Linked DNA regions of Homo sapiens: region 2 is linked to region 1. Evidence: promoter capture Hi-C in human tissues and cell types (Jung and others, 2019). All regions are on one chromosome and are shown on one strand. Each heading gives the region's core, a stretch centred on a gene start or on the middle of the fragment in contact. The rest is flanking DNA. Distances are from core to core; before and after follow the strand shown. Region 1 holds the start of MED23 (mediator complex subunit 23). Region 2 overlaps AKAP7 (A-kinase anchoring protein 7).

The links. Contacts are between HindIII fragments. The study calls those that stand out against the background at their distance.
Region 2: a contact is called between a fragment that was not itself captured here and the fragment with the promoter of MED23 in region 1, in 1 of the 25 tissues and cell types used here (spleen).

What each region holds. Positions count from the first base shown.
Region 1 is chr6:131,624,405-131,631,878 of GRCh38, forward strand. MED23 (mediator complex subunit 23) reads right to left here and starts at 3,838. Exons shown (of 29, transcript NM_004830.4): 1 at 3,607-3,838; 2 at 3,237-3,268; 3 at 2,992-3,079; 4 at 461-585. The coding sequence starts at 3,645. RefSeq lists enhancers at 3,478-3,527, 3,658-3,827. The HindIII fragment of the contact is 9,048 bases long and covers 2,034-7,474 here.
Region 2 is chr6:131,183,501-131,190,974 of GRCh38, forward strand. The region is part of intron 5 of AKAP7 (A-kinase anchoring protein 7); the gene reads left to right. It also overlaps the pseudogene LOC100421246. Among named protein-coding and RNA genes, the nearest start is that of AKAP7, 52 kb to the left of the region's middle. The HindIII fragment of the contact is 4,373 bases long and covers 1,838-6,210 here.

The sequences.
Region 1 (7,474 bases), core at 2,588-5,087:
CAGATGACAGCCAGGAATCAACCACCAGATATCTGAGTGGGGAAGCTTTTGCCATGCTCCAGCCCTAGCCACATTGATCACAATCATTATGACCTTGAGTAAAAAGTGTCTCCTAAGCCGAGTCAACCACTAAAACCATGAATAATTTTAAAACCTGAGTATTACTGTTTTAAGCCATAAGGTGTTGAGGTTGTGCAGCAAAAGTAAAGGGTTACAAACTAATTAAAGTGATTAATTTCAGCCCCTGGGCAGAAACATCTGGTTTTGAGCCCACAAGCATTACCTAATTCAAAGACTATTACTCCTAGAAACTAAAACCTGAGGTATTATATAAAGGATTACTTGATAAACCTCACCTTCTTCTTCATTCTCTTACCTTTTTACAACAACAACCTCAACCAATTTCCAATCACATATAGAAAAGAAAATTCTTCAGATTGCTCATACCCATTAAACGTACCTGGGTGGAAGGAGACCAGTCTCAACTGCCATTGCTAAGCAGTCATAAAGAAAAGAAATTCTTTTAGGACTATGCTGACCATGAATAAACTTAACAATCCACTGGATACACTGTTCATGAGACTCCTGGAAAATGAGAGAATGATTTTACTTGGGGTCTAAAGTTACATTTTTATAACCAATAGCTAATACTACAACTGGAAGTATACCAATACTATGAAAGAAATACTTCACTATGAGCATCTGTGGATGAAAATAATTTTTAAAAAAAGCAAAATTAAAAAATTCAGATTTAGTATTTGTCACATTAAGCTTAACATTTTGTAATTACATAGATAAAATGCTACCATTTTTATTACATGGGAACTTCAAAAGTAGTAATTAATTAGTTAACATATTAACGGTCAATAGAAAACTCTTAACACAGATTGTTGTAAGGCATTGTAAACAGTGCCCTTTATGGCATATATAAATATTACTGTCACTGGGGGTAAAATTCATTATGGATCAGTATGTATCAGGCTTAGGAGAATTAGGTGTGAATCCAATCCCTAAGATCCCAAACAAGAGCCCATTATGAATCCAATGACATGTCACATTTCTAGACTGGCAAAACTTTAAATACGATGTCAAAATGTTGTGCCCGTATCAAAGTTTGTCTTCTAGGATTATCTCCAAAAAGAGCCTATAATGTTCTGCTTCTCTCCACAACCACTGTTCTCATACATACTTCTATTGTGGCACATATAACAATGATTTGGAAATACCTATTTTCTTCCTGGTCTCTCCATTAGAGGGCCACATCATAATTCATAAAGTGTTTAATGAATTTTTTTTTAAATTTTGGAAAGATATTCAACATCACTGAGAGAAATGCAAAATAAAATTATACTGAGATAAAATTTCTCATGTTTTTGATTGGCAAAGATCAAAAAGCTTAACACTCTATTGTGAGGTTATAAGAAAAAGATACTCTCAGCCGGGCGCGGTGGCTCATGCCTGTAATCCCAGCACTTTGGGAGGCCGAGGTGGGCAGATCATGAGGTCGGGAGATCGAGACCAACCTGGCTAACACGATGAAACCCCGTCTCTACTAAAAATACAAAAAATGAGCCGGGCGTGATAGCAGGTGCCTGTAGTCCCAGCTACTCGGGAGGCTGAGGCAGGAGAACGGCGTGAACCCGAGAGGCAGAGGTTGCAGTGAGCCAAGATCACGCCACTGCACTCTAGCCTGGGCGACAGAGTGAGACTCTGTCTCCAAAAAAAAAAAAAAAAAAGAAAAGAAAAAGATAATCTCAAACACTGCTGGTGGAAGCATAAACTAGTATAACCCTTATGGAAAATTTAATAATTTCTATAAAAATTACAAACTGATAAGGCTTTTGACTCAGCAATACTATTTCTAGGAATTTATCCTATTTTTCATGCATAATATTATTCATCACAGCATTGGTTAAATTAGAAAAAGTAAGAAGAAACTTAGAAGACAGTAGAAGATTGGTTAAAAGGAGGAAGGTACAGCCATACAATGGAATATTATGCTGCTATTTAAAAAAAAAAGTAAGAAAGGAAGGAACAAGTAACGCTTGGACTGATAGGGAATTACCTGTAGATTATTATTAGGAGAAAAAAAGTGCTAATTAATGAACAGTGTACATGGTATATGATCATGCTATAAAAGTGTTTCTATATGCATAAAATACTTCTAGAAGAAAACATAACCTGAGGATATTGGCTACAGACAGAAAAAATAACAGGTAAGAGAAGAGAAAGAGACTAGTTATTGGATCCACCCTTTTATACCTGTGCATTTTGAACCATATAAATGTATTACCTATTAGAAAACAACTAAACAAAAAGGTTAAAACATGACTGTATTGGCATTATATGATCCATGTCTGAGTGGCAAATCTTATCACCAGTGGCTGACACGCAAACAGTTCTCATTTCCCTACCTATAGTGTACCATGAGAAGGTAAGGCACTACTGCAATGTGAGCTCTTCGAGGATGACACATTTTTGTCTTTTTCACGGATACATTTTCTGGTAGCTGTTCTTTGTTACTTTTACAGTTTGTCTCCTCATTTTTACTATAATATTTTCCTATCCTTATTATAGAATCTTGGTATTCCTATTGTAGCATCTTTGTATCAATGCTGTGCCAATTCCTTTATTTAGCAGAAAAATGGAATTTGTATCCTTGACAAGTAAAGCTTAACATATCTGTTTTCAAGTGTACCAAATAAATCCGAATAGGATGAAAATGATCTCAATTAATCTAACATAGGGGAGGTTTTTTTTTTTAAACATCTCACACTGTGCAGTATCAACTTGACTTCTCAACACAGGTTTTCCACTGAAATATACAAATTAAAACAAATGGAAGCCAGAATAAAAAATGATAACAATTTTATTTCTCCCTTCTCAGGAAGATCTTAAGAGCAGCATGAAAGTAAATGTTAAAAGAAAAAAAAAAAAAAAAAGAAGAGGCCAAAAATCATCAGCTGAATGTATTAAAAATGAAGCGCTCACCTGAGAAAGACCACCCCAAAACTGTCTGAAGGCCCCCAAACAGCTAATTAGTTTTGTTTTCTCATCTTCAGGAGTATCCATAAACATGCTAAAAAAATAAAAATTACATTATTTGTCATTCGTTTTAAAAAGGTAATTACACACAATCAGAATAGTGGATCTTATAACCTTCCAACACGAAACTAAGTAAAATCTGACAGACACAATCACATAAAAACACAAAACTCTGCCACGCATACACTCACCCAGGAAAAGCCTCTTCTATAACTTCCGTTTTCTGTAAAAAAAAAAAAAACAAAATGTAAACAATGTTAATTTTAAAAAGGCGCCTCCCTTAGCCAAGTATTACAATGTAACACAGGGCAAGTCACCTTAATCAGCTCTGAAACTATCAATACCTGTCTGGCCTGTCACTGTATCGATTTCAAAGGATACAATGAACTTGACAGCAGTTTGAGAATCACTAAACTTCCCCGCATACAACCTCGGTGTCAAAACAAGGGAATAAAAAGGGAGGCGTGAGAGGAGGTTGCCCAGGCCAGTTTCCTTGGTCGGCTGCCCCCGCGTCTCCCCGTCCCCAAGCCGTAGTCCTGGATGGCCGGCAGCTGCACTCACCACCACCTCTTCGAAAATGCTCTGCAGTTGCGTCTCCATCTGTACTATCACCCCCGCCTTTCCAGGGTGCCCGGCAAGGCCCGGATCAGACTCGAGCTCTGGGAATATAGGGGCAGAGGGGCGGAGACCTCTGGAGGAAACCGTAGCTCCTCGGCGTCGCTTCCTCCCCCAGCGCTTTACCTGGAGCGTTCCCTCCCGAGCCCAGCCAACAGCAGGAACCTGTACGGAAGACGGGAAGGGCCCGGTACGCGCCGTTTGCAAACCCCGCAGAAACCAGCGGCGCCACCAGAAGGTTCCGTCTGTGGAGAAGGGCGGCCCGCAAGCCGGACGAGAGCGCCCCCAAACGGAACCTTGAGCCCAAGGACCCCGGAGGCATCGTCGACCGCAGGCCGCCACCTCCCGGCTGGAGAAGGAGTTGCTTCCTGTTCGGGGCTAACCCGCTTGCAGACTGAGAAATGAAAAGTTTGGAACCCAGAAGCTGCAGCCTGCGGAAAATGCTGGAGCCGCAGCCGACACCAAGTTGATGTCTGTGAGCAGCTGACCTTCTGGACCTCCATCAGCGGCCTGCAGCCAGGAGCTGAAGCCACAGAGACGGTGTCTTCTCAGCTATGATAACCTCAGTGCAAATGTAATTGATTGACTTTTGAATGCCAAACCAATTTTGCTTCTATGGTATAAATGCTACTTGGTCATAATATATTATCCTTTTTAATATATTGCTAGATTCTATTTGCTATTATATTGTTGAGAGTATGTGTTTTTCTTCATATGCCACCATCATCACCAACCCCTAAAACATCTGTTATGTCTTGAATGATCAGCTTTCTTTGCCTCATAAAGAAAATTGTTGATGAGAGTCATAGACATCCAAAGGCCTTTCACTTCTTTGACGGTTGTGAAATGCCACAAACTGCTAAGCATGAACTACTCCTTTGTAGCTGCTAAGTGATGAGCTGATGACTCCCCATTCATGGTTTTGTTATACAAGTGTCTGACCTGGCATAAATTTAGTTTTCTAACAACTTTAATATGCACATGCAACCATGTTGTCCACACAATAGCTACTAAAAGCTGAAAAGAAATAATTCAGATTTCCTGCTGGAGAAAAACTTGAAAAGTTAGGCTTAGGGTATTGTTTGCTAGGGTTGCCATAACAAAATACCACAGACTGGGTGGCTTAAACAACAGAAATTTCTTTTCTTGTAATTCTGGAGGCTGGAAGTCTGAGGTTGAGGTTGATAGGGTTAGTTTCTATAGAGGCCTCTGTCCTTGGCTTGTAGATGACCTTCTTCTCCTTGTGTCTTCACATGGTCTTCCCTTTGTACATGTCTGTGTCGTAATTTTCTCTTCCTAGAAGGACATCAGTCAGGTTAGGGCCCATGTATCTACTCTAAAGAGCTTTAGCTTAGTTGAAGACATAGACATTTTAAACCATAATAGAGTGTGATATGTGCAATACTAGTGATGCTAATAAAGTGCCAGGGAGAAAAGGAGGAAATACAAATTTTTCTACAGAAAGGAATTTAGAAAGATACCTAGGGGAGTTTGCTTAGATTGCTGTGAACAGCATACTATAAACTGGGGGGTAATTTGAGTCTGAGCAAACTGAAAGCTGAGAATTCAGGCTTCTTGTTCCATCCTTGTCCTATCAGGATTTAGAGTGGGGGACTAAAGAGCCAACTGGAAACTCTGAGCAGCTGGGCAGGGCTTATCAACTTTGAGCATCTTTATAGTGTGTTCTGGGGACATTGTTTCTTGGAGAATCCCCAAAGTTGGTATCATCAGGTCTTTCCCCTTAGGCTGGTCTGAATCACCAAGGAAGATACATCTAATCTCTTACAAGTGGGTAAAGTTCTGACTGGCTGCCAACCTTCTTGCAGCCAAAAGGAACAAGAAGCCTGATCTCTTACAAGTGGGTAAAGTTCTGACTGGCTGCCAACCTTCTTGCAGCCAAAAGGAACAAGAAGCCTGAGTTCTCAGCGTTCAGTTTGCTGAGACTCGAATCACCCCAGTTTATAGTATGCTATTCACAGCAGTCTGAGCAAACTCACGTAGATATCTTTCTAAATCCCTTTCTGTAGAAAAATTTGTATTTCTTCCTCTTTCCTCCTGGCACTTTATTAGCACTACTAGTATTGCACAGATTACACTATATTATGGTTTAAAATGTCTACTTCTTCAACTAGACTAAAGCTCTTTAGAGTAGATACAGAAATTAAACATGCCTGCATTTCCTAACACCTGGCATAAAGTCTGGTACTTGGTGGTGCTCAGTCATTATTCATTACTTTGGGTAGAATAAAAACATCTGAAGTGCCTTTATTTTATGGACAAGACTTCCTCTGAGGTAATAGCTATTTCTGGAATGCTGGATGTAGAGAAAGATTTGGAACACCTACAAAGTTATACCTAGTAAAGTTATTATAATTTATAACAGTTGGGTTCACTGGACATTTATGTATGTGGTAGCTTATACTTCTAATGTTATTTCTGAAACCGTTACAAAATTTATTCAGCAAGTGTTCATTGAATGTCTTCTAGGTGTTGGCCACTGTGCTAGACACTAGAACAAGACTGTAAGCTCAAACTGACCTAGTTCCTGCCACCACGGAGTTGACACGGCAGAGAGGAGTTTAAAGGTTTGGGGAAATAACTTGGTTCATGCCAGGTTTCAGAGATGTAAACAGTACGTGGCCTGTACCTTCTGCTTCATGGATGGGCACCGTGGGAGCACTGTGACACTGAGCTCTACCTCGGAGAGCCCAGGCAGCATGGTTGTTTTATAATGTCTCTTCTGGAGACATCTCTAGAATTTGAGTCATAAATGAGGCCCTCATGAGTACACTAAAAATGAGAAGAGCCTATGAAAACCTGGAAAATGTTTGGAAATCCAAAGATTTCTGAGTTTCAAAATGAACAAGAAAGGGCTCCTAGAAATCTAACACTACTAGGGAATATTTCTGTACTTGAGACAAAGTAAGAGAAACAGTCTTCCATGAACCAGAGACAACCTTAGGAATGCTGATCGTTCAGTAGAAAACAATTGCTACACCACAGGAGTCATCACATCAGGTTTCTCATCTCCAAATTGATTATAGATGTTCATTGTGCTGATCAGTAATGAGATTTTTACTTATTTAGTCAGAAAATATCTTTTCACACACATAGGTACTGGCAAACAGCGGTATCAAACTGTGACCATTGATTCTACTTTGCCATAGTCATTGTTTGGAGGACTAGAGCTGGGCTCTCTATTCCATGCTGGGTGTCTGCTTTGTCTCCTGGTGTGTACCATTGCCTCTCAGACCTGGTTTGGCACTGCTGACATCAGTCTCACCAAGACAGCCAGTTCTCAATTCAGCTTCAGTGTTGGATCTCCACTTGCTGAGGATTAGCTTCTGTCCTTCCTATACCAACTGCCTACCTGGTTAGCTTTCTGATTGCTTTGTGTGCTTGTCAATCTCCTTGTAGGTTTTTCTGCTTTTTCCTCATGACTGGCCCTCCCTGAAGTTAGTCACCTGCCCATCTATCTCTGGCATTATGTTATTATGTGAGGTCTCCCTTCCTTTGTGGACTCCTTCTTCCTTTTGCTGTTGGACCTGAGCCTAGCATCCGCCTCACCTCTACCACCCTCCTCAGTGCGATTAGTTTCTCTGGGCTCTCCCAGTCTAGCTTGTCCACCTATCACCCAAGATCTAGCACTGGAACCAGGAAGGGCAGGTTCCTGAGACAAAGAAGTTGATGTTGGCAGGCCCCTAGGGCTTTTCTGAGACAACAACAACCCATTTGTTGCCAGAATTCTGTGGACACTGAGACCTTCTGTAACATGAGGAATGTTTACGGTTTACATTGATGGGTGATGTAATGG
Region 2 (7,474 bases), core at 2,774-5,273, 440 kb before region 1:
ATTACCCATCTCCCTGTGGCCCTTGAGCTGCTGGCCTGGCCCCCTGATCCTTCCCCTCTCCCCACAAAACCAAAATGAATAAGAAGAGAGGTAGAAGATGAGACATTCCAAGGGTGGGGAATGCTTTAGTCACTGGAGCCCGCCCATGAGAGTGAGCCTGGAGAGCACTGGGAAGCACAAGGTGAAGCTGCTGCTCCCCCTGGGGTGGGGTGGACTGGGACAGGGCAGAGCCAGGAGGGTGACCGAGAACATCCTGACTCCAGCAAAGAATCCTACGTAGCAGGAACAGAGGGCTGCAGAGAGCCACTCTGGAGGAAGGAGGTGAGGCTAAGTGACACAGGGGCATGGAAAGCTCCTTGTGGCTGTGGCCTCAGCTGCTCGCTACCAGCTGCCTTGGGCAGAGGCTCTGGCCTGGCTCGCCTCTGGGGGATGGGAAAACTCTGGAGACCAGAGTGGAGGCAGAACAGAGAGAGAAGTGAGCTGCTCTCCCACTCTTTCTAGGAGGACACTGTTTGAACCCTGTGATGACCAGGGCCTGGGCCCAAGGCAAGCAGAATGAATGCATTTCATGGAGAGCAGAGAGAAACTGGGCCCACAGGTATGCCTTGGGGCAGTGTGTTGCTCCTTTCTCCTTGAGGGCCTAGGGCCAGAGGTGGCCAGAGCTGCCACATCAGCTTGTGGCTGCCAAAGGCAGGCTAGAACAACCACCCCAAGGTTCTCTGGACTTGTGAAGGAGAGGAGGAGGAAGGGAAAGGTGGGTATGAAAAATGAAGTGGAGGAGAGAAACAGCCTTAGATATGTCGGGGAGCAGGGGGGTGGCTATATCAAGAGGAGTTCTTGTTCTGGTAGATGGAAGCTTTCTCCTTCAACAGGTCCAGACACAGGTGGCACCTCCAACTTCCTTCAGGGGGCTCAGATATGGACGGAGTGAGACAGTACATTTCGTAGCCATGATCGCAGCATCACAAAAGCCCAGCTGGTCATCATCTTCAGAGGTGCCGCAGATATCGCAACATTTGTGCTCGATGCATTGCCAGCAGTATGTCTTCACTGCCCCATCATCATGGGGGTGAAATGGAGGCAAGATGGATGCCCTGAGCAGCCACAGTCGAAACAGGACACCACCTCCTCAGGTTGTCCCATCTTCTTGTTAATCTTTGAGTTCCCCAGGCAGAAGTTACAGTAGTTGTTGGGCAAGGCAAATCCATCAGGACCCTTTTTGGATTTCTGTTCCTCAGACCTCTGGGAAACAGGAGTGGGTGGTTGGGAGTCTTCTTTGTCCTCGCCCTCCTCAGCCAAGTGAGAGTGGGCATAGTGGTAACTGAGGCCTGGTCGGTTCTTGTAACGTTTTCCACAAATGTCACAGGCATAGGGCTTATCCTGGTCCTCCAGGTTGGAAGCATCCAGCTCCTTATGGGCACTGCCACACCTTTACCCTTGGATTACCCCTTTCCCCGATGCTTGGGAGCATCTTCACAGTACTCATCATCGAGGTCATCCAGGAAGTCATCTGGTTCTAGGATCCGCTTTCGTGCTTGACTGTTTGTCACAGGAAACTTGCCCAGGCTGTCATCATCAACTCGGGGATCTGGGGTACCTCGCTTCCCCAGGGGGTCAGTGTGCAACAGAACCTCTAAACTGCTGCTGTCCTGAGAGATCAGCCCCTCCTTCTTCAGGGTGGGGTCTGTGTCTGGCTTAATAGGTGGGAAGAAAAATTGTGGATCTTCACAGGGGTGGGCTCACCGCTTTTTCCGCCAGTGCTGGGCAGGGTACGAGTAGTTGTCCAGAGGCCAATCCTAGAACCTGGTTACTTCTTCATCCAGCTGTAATAATTGTTCTGGGCTACTCCAGTCTGTGAGGCCAAGAAAGGCAGGCACATGCTGTGCTCAGCACAGAGGTGGGCATTGTAATTGTGGCCCTGCTCCATGGCATCTTTGTAGTACTGCTCCCAAGGAACTTCATTGCATTCACCACCACAGGTGCCATTTTCCTTGCTTCTCTCCCTCCAGTAATGGCCATTCTAATGGGTATGAGGTGGTATTTCATTTGTGGTTTTGATTTGCAATTCCTTGATGATTAGTGATGTTGAACATCTTTTCCTGTGCTTTTTGCCGTTTGTGTTTCTTCTACGGAGAAATCCTATTCAAGCCTTTTGCCCATTTTTAAACCAAGTTGTCTTTTGTTGTTGATTTGAAGGAGTTCTTTAAATTCTGAATGTTAATCTCTTATCAGATATACGATTTGCAAATATTTCTCCCACTCCATAGGTGGCCTTTTCATTCTATTATATCCTATGATGCACAAAAGTTTTAAATTTTTATGTAGTCCAATTTATCTGTTTTTACTTTTGTTGCCTGTGCTTTGGTGTCACACTCAAGAAATCATTGCCAAATCTAATGTCTTGAACCTTTCCCTCTATGTTTTTTCTTAAGAGTCTTATAATTTTAACTCTTATGTTTAGATCTTTGATCCATTTCGAGTTAATTTTTGTATATGGTGTAAGGTGTAAGGGACTAACTTCATTCTTTTGCATGTGGATATCCAGTTTTCCTAGCACCATTTGTTGAAAGACTGCTGATGTAGTTTGTATGTTATCCCTTCTCAAATTGTATGTTGAAATGTAATCCCCAGTGTTGGAGGTGGGGCCTTGTGGGAGGTGATTGGATCATCATCCTCTTGGTACCATCCTCATGCTAGTGAGTGAGTTCTTGTGAGATCTGGTCATTTAAAAGTGTGTGGGACCTTCCCCTCTCTCTCTTATTCCTGCTCCCACCCTGTGAGATGCCCGCTCCCCTGTGCCTTCTGCCATGGATTGTAAGCTTCCTGAGGCCTCCCCAGAAGGAGATGCTGGCATTATGCTTCCTGTACAGCCTGCAGAACTGTGAGCCAATTAAAGTCTCTTTTCTTATAAGTTATCCAGTCTCAGGTATTTTTTTTTTAAATAGCAATGCAGAAATGGCGTAATACAACTGTCTTTTCTCATTGAATGATCTTGGCACAGTTGTTGAAACCATTTGACCTTCCTGCTGTTATAACAAAATTCCTGGACTGGGTAATTTATAAACAACAGAAATTTATTCATCACAGTTTTGGAAATGGGAAGTTCAAGATCAGGTCACCAGAAGATTTAGTGTTTGGAGAGGGCTCTCTGCTTCACAGATGACACCTTGCTACTGCATCCTCACCTAGTGGAAGGGGAGAACACTGTATCCTCACATGGTGGAGGGGCAAAAGGGACAAAGACAAAAGACAAAAGTGATTTAGGACCCCAAAATCTCTTTTAAGGACAGTAATCCCATTAATGAAGGCAGACCTCTTGTGACCTAATCAGCTCCCAAAGGCCCCACCTCTTAATACCTTTACCTTGGGGATTAGGTCTCAACGTAAGAATTTTGGAGGGACACAAACATTCAGACCATAGCAACCATATATGTGAGGGTTTATTTTTGAGCTTTCTATTCTATTTCATTAGCCTATATATTTGTCTTTATGCATATATTACACCGTCTTGATTACTGTAGATTTGTAGTAACTTTTGAAATCAGAAGTGTAAAATCTCTAACTTTGATCTTCTTTATCAAGATTGTTTTGCTATTCAGAGATCCTTGAGGTTCAATATGAATTTTAGGATGGATTTTTTTTAAATTTCTGCAGAAAATACCATTGGGATTTTGATAGGGTTACATTAAATCATTAGATTGCTTTGAGCAGTATTGGCATTTTAACAATATGTTGTCCTTCGGTTCATTAAAACAGGCAGGATGTCTTTTCATTTATTTGTATTTTCTTTAATTTCTTTTAGCAATGTTTCATAGTTTTCAGAATATGCATCTTTCACCTCCTTGGTTAAGTTTATTCCTAAGTATTTTAAAATTTTTGTATTCCTAATTATTTTATAATTTTATTTATAATGTTGATGCAATTGTTTTCTTAATTTCCTTTCACATTGTATCACTGACCTTTCATAGAGACTTATTTCAAGTGTCACTTTAAAAATAAAGGCCTTTTTTCTCCAAAGTAGAAATGATCATTTTATCCTCTTATCCCCTATATCTCTACTGTAGAAACTATAACAAGTTAGTGTAATTGTTTAGAAATCTAACTTTCCCAACCAGAATTGAAAGGTCTTTGAGGGAATCTTCCGTCTTTGTGTCCTCAATTCCTGCCACATAGTAGAGATTCAATAAATATATTTTAATACATAAAGCAATGAAAAAAAAGTGTGATGTACACATAAAAGTTTACTTGAAAGAACATTTAACTTTAGGTAGTCTCTCTTCCCTCATTTACATTTGTGTCTAAATCTTTGCATGAAAATTAAACCCAGTCCTGGTGTTCTAGAATCCCCTAAGGGTGATGTACCAGAACTCTCTCTGGCAGTTCACTTGGATTTGCTGGTTGTTAGGATAAGAAGGGACCTGAGAGACAATTTATTATGGTCTCATCACTTTTACTATCAGTGTTAAGTGATGTGTCTAGGAGCACAAACTAAATAATGGGAGAACTGGGTTGGAGTTAGAAGGCTCAGTCTGGTTCTCTTTATCAACTGTGGTAGAATGAGTAGAATTCCTCTGGCATCAAGATGTATTTTAAAGATGTGCTTTTAAGAATGACACTTAAAAATTCTACTTGTCAGTTTTACACAGTAATCAACTGGAAATATCTATTTAAGATGAGGACTATAAAATTTTTAAATTGAAGTTGGTTTCAGCATTATGTCAGCCTTTATATTGAAACATAGTTCAAGTGACTTGCTAAGACTGTCTAAAATGGAACTGTTTAAGCAGTATGTGGATACAGGAATGCTTTAAATGTTAATAGTAATATTATAGGAACAACAAAAACAGCTTTATGGCTTTTATTTCTTTAAAGTTTCAGGTGACGAAAAGTGATTTTAAAATTTTATTGAGATTTTTCGTATTATATGTGACACAATTTTAGCATAACTTACAATAGTAGTAGAAAGTATCTTGCAATTGGAAGACATGGAAAATACTCATGCTTGCTATTGTTTAATTACACATTAGTTTTGTTGTTGTTGTTGTTTTGTTTTTTAAGACCGTGTATCACTCTGTCACCCAGGCTAGAGTACAGTGGTGTCATCACAGCTCACTGCAGCCTTGACCTCCCTGGGCTTAGGTGAGCTTCCCATTTCATCCTCCTGAGTAGCTGGGACTACAGGCATAGGCCATCACACCTGGCTGATTTTTGTACTTCTTTTTTTTTTTTTTTTGTAGAGACAGGGTTTCACCATGTTGCCCAGGCTGGTCTCAAATTCCTGGGCTCAGGCAATTCTCCCTCCTTGGCCTCCCAGAGTACTGGGATTATAGGCATGAGCCACCTCGCCTAGCCCCAAATCAAAAATTGAACTTGCCATTTTTGTGACATCCACATACTGAAATAATATATAGAGATACTTGACTTATGGTGCAGTTACATCTTAATAAACCTATTGTAACTTGAAAATGAATTGAATACATTTAACCTACCTGAAAATATAGCTTAGTCTAGCCTACCTTGAATGTGCCCACAACACTTAACATTAACCTATAGCTGGGCAAAAAAATCATCTGGCAACACAACACACTATAGAGTGTTTGTTGTTACCCTTGTGATCCTGTGACTGGCTGGGAGCAGCTCGCTGCTGCTTTCTGGCATTGAGAGAGAATATCATACTGCATATTGCTATCTGGGAAAAGACCAAAATTCAAAATTTACAAGTACAGTTTCTACTGAACACATGTTGCTTTTGCACAATTGTAAAATCAAACAATCATAAATTGAACCTTTGTAGTTTGAGGATTATCTGTATAAGTTTAGTAATATAATGAACTTAATTCCTTTTAGCATTCTAGACTATTCTTATTAATAAACCTCTTTTTGATTATTCTCAAATTGGAGATCATGTGATCGTATAAACATCTTTAACAATATTAGAGAAAGGGAGAAAATAGCAAAAGCTTGGAAAGAAGGGGTAAATATTTATCTTGCAAAAAGGGTATATAAGTAGAAACATGACTTTGTTAAAATTGATCTGTTACAGTTTACTTTGAGACAACTTTTAACAACTTCTTTGCATTTTAAGATTATTATGTAAATTTATTGCTGCTACATATTTTAAAGAGTTCACCTAAAGAAAATCTCCTATAGAAAAAAATATGTAAAGCCTAAAAAACAGATAAAGCTGTATTTGTTAGGGTTACAAATGTGTTGTTTCTCTATTAAATTGTTTATTTCAGTATTCTTTTATATAGCAAAGTGTCCTTGTATGTAAATATATTTTTAAGTAGTTGTTCTTCAGACAATTTTCATCTTCAGTTATAAGTTATATTATTTAGGAGGCACCCTTACCTGACTTTTTGAAGGATATCTGATGTATGTGTTTTGTGATTTTTGGTTTAGTGCTTGAAGGAATGCCTGTGGTACTGGGAGGAATTAAGCAATCTCAATTATTCATAAGCTTCTCTTCCAGGACTTCCAACTTCTGTGTAAGTTGTTAACACAGATGAAAAATGACATGTAGGTTTCATATTAGTAAAAACTTTTCTCATCCCAAATATGACATTGCTCGAACCATTACCTAATACCCTAAGCAATAGATTATACTACTGTTAGGAATATAAAATCAGTATTAAGAAGTACTTTTCAAAAAGAAGGCATTTTCTTTTTCCCCACTTCTATGTACCTATGGACTATATTGAAAAAGCACATTAATAAAAATCAAAAGTTCTTTGTGACAAATATTATTTAAAACAGTATTGTGAATAAATATCATAAAATACTTCAGACCTAGTGAATAATGAGAGCTGTTGGGTCAAAATCTGAGGTAACTGAAATCAATAAATTGAAAAGTGTTGGCTGGGCGCGGTGGCTCATGACTGTAATCCCAGCACTTTGGTTGGGAAGCCAAGGCGGGCAGATCACTTGAGGCCAGGAGTGCAAGATCAGATTGGCCAACATGACAAAACCCATAACTACTAAAAATACAAAAATTAGCCAGGCATGGTGGTGCGTGCCTGTAATCCCAGCTACTCAAGTGGCTGAGGCACAAGTATTGCTTTAACTTGGGAGGTGGTGGAGGTTGCAGTGAGCTGAGATTGTACCATTGCAATACAGCCTGGGTGACGGAGCGAGATTCTGTCTTGAAAAAAAAAAAAGGAAAAAAAGAGAAAAATGTTTTCTTTAGACTCAGTTGATTTAAGATTGTTATAGCAAATAAGATAATAAATAAACATTAGGTAGTAAAGAACAGTACAAATGCCCACTGTTTTAATTTTCTGTTAACAGAAGTCCATTTCTTATATCCATCAAATTTTTTGATAAATTCAAAAATTCAAATTTGATTTTTTTGATGTTGATTGGGAAGTCCTTCTTCTTCTTGTGCTGAAATCTGTCCCATGAGACTGTAACCTCCCAGGAGACCAAAATAACTTTTAGAGTCTCTTTTGTGCAGCCTTCAGCAGATACTGTGCTT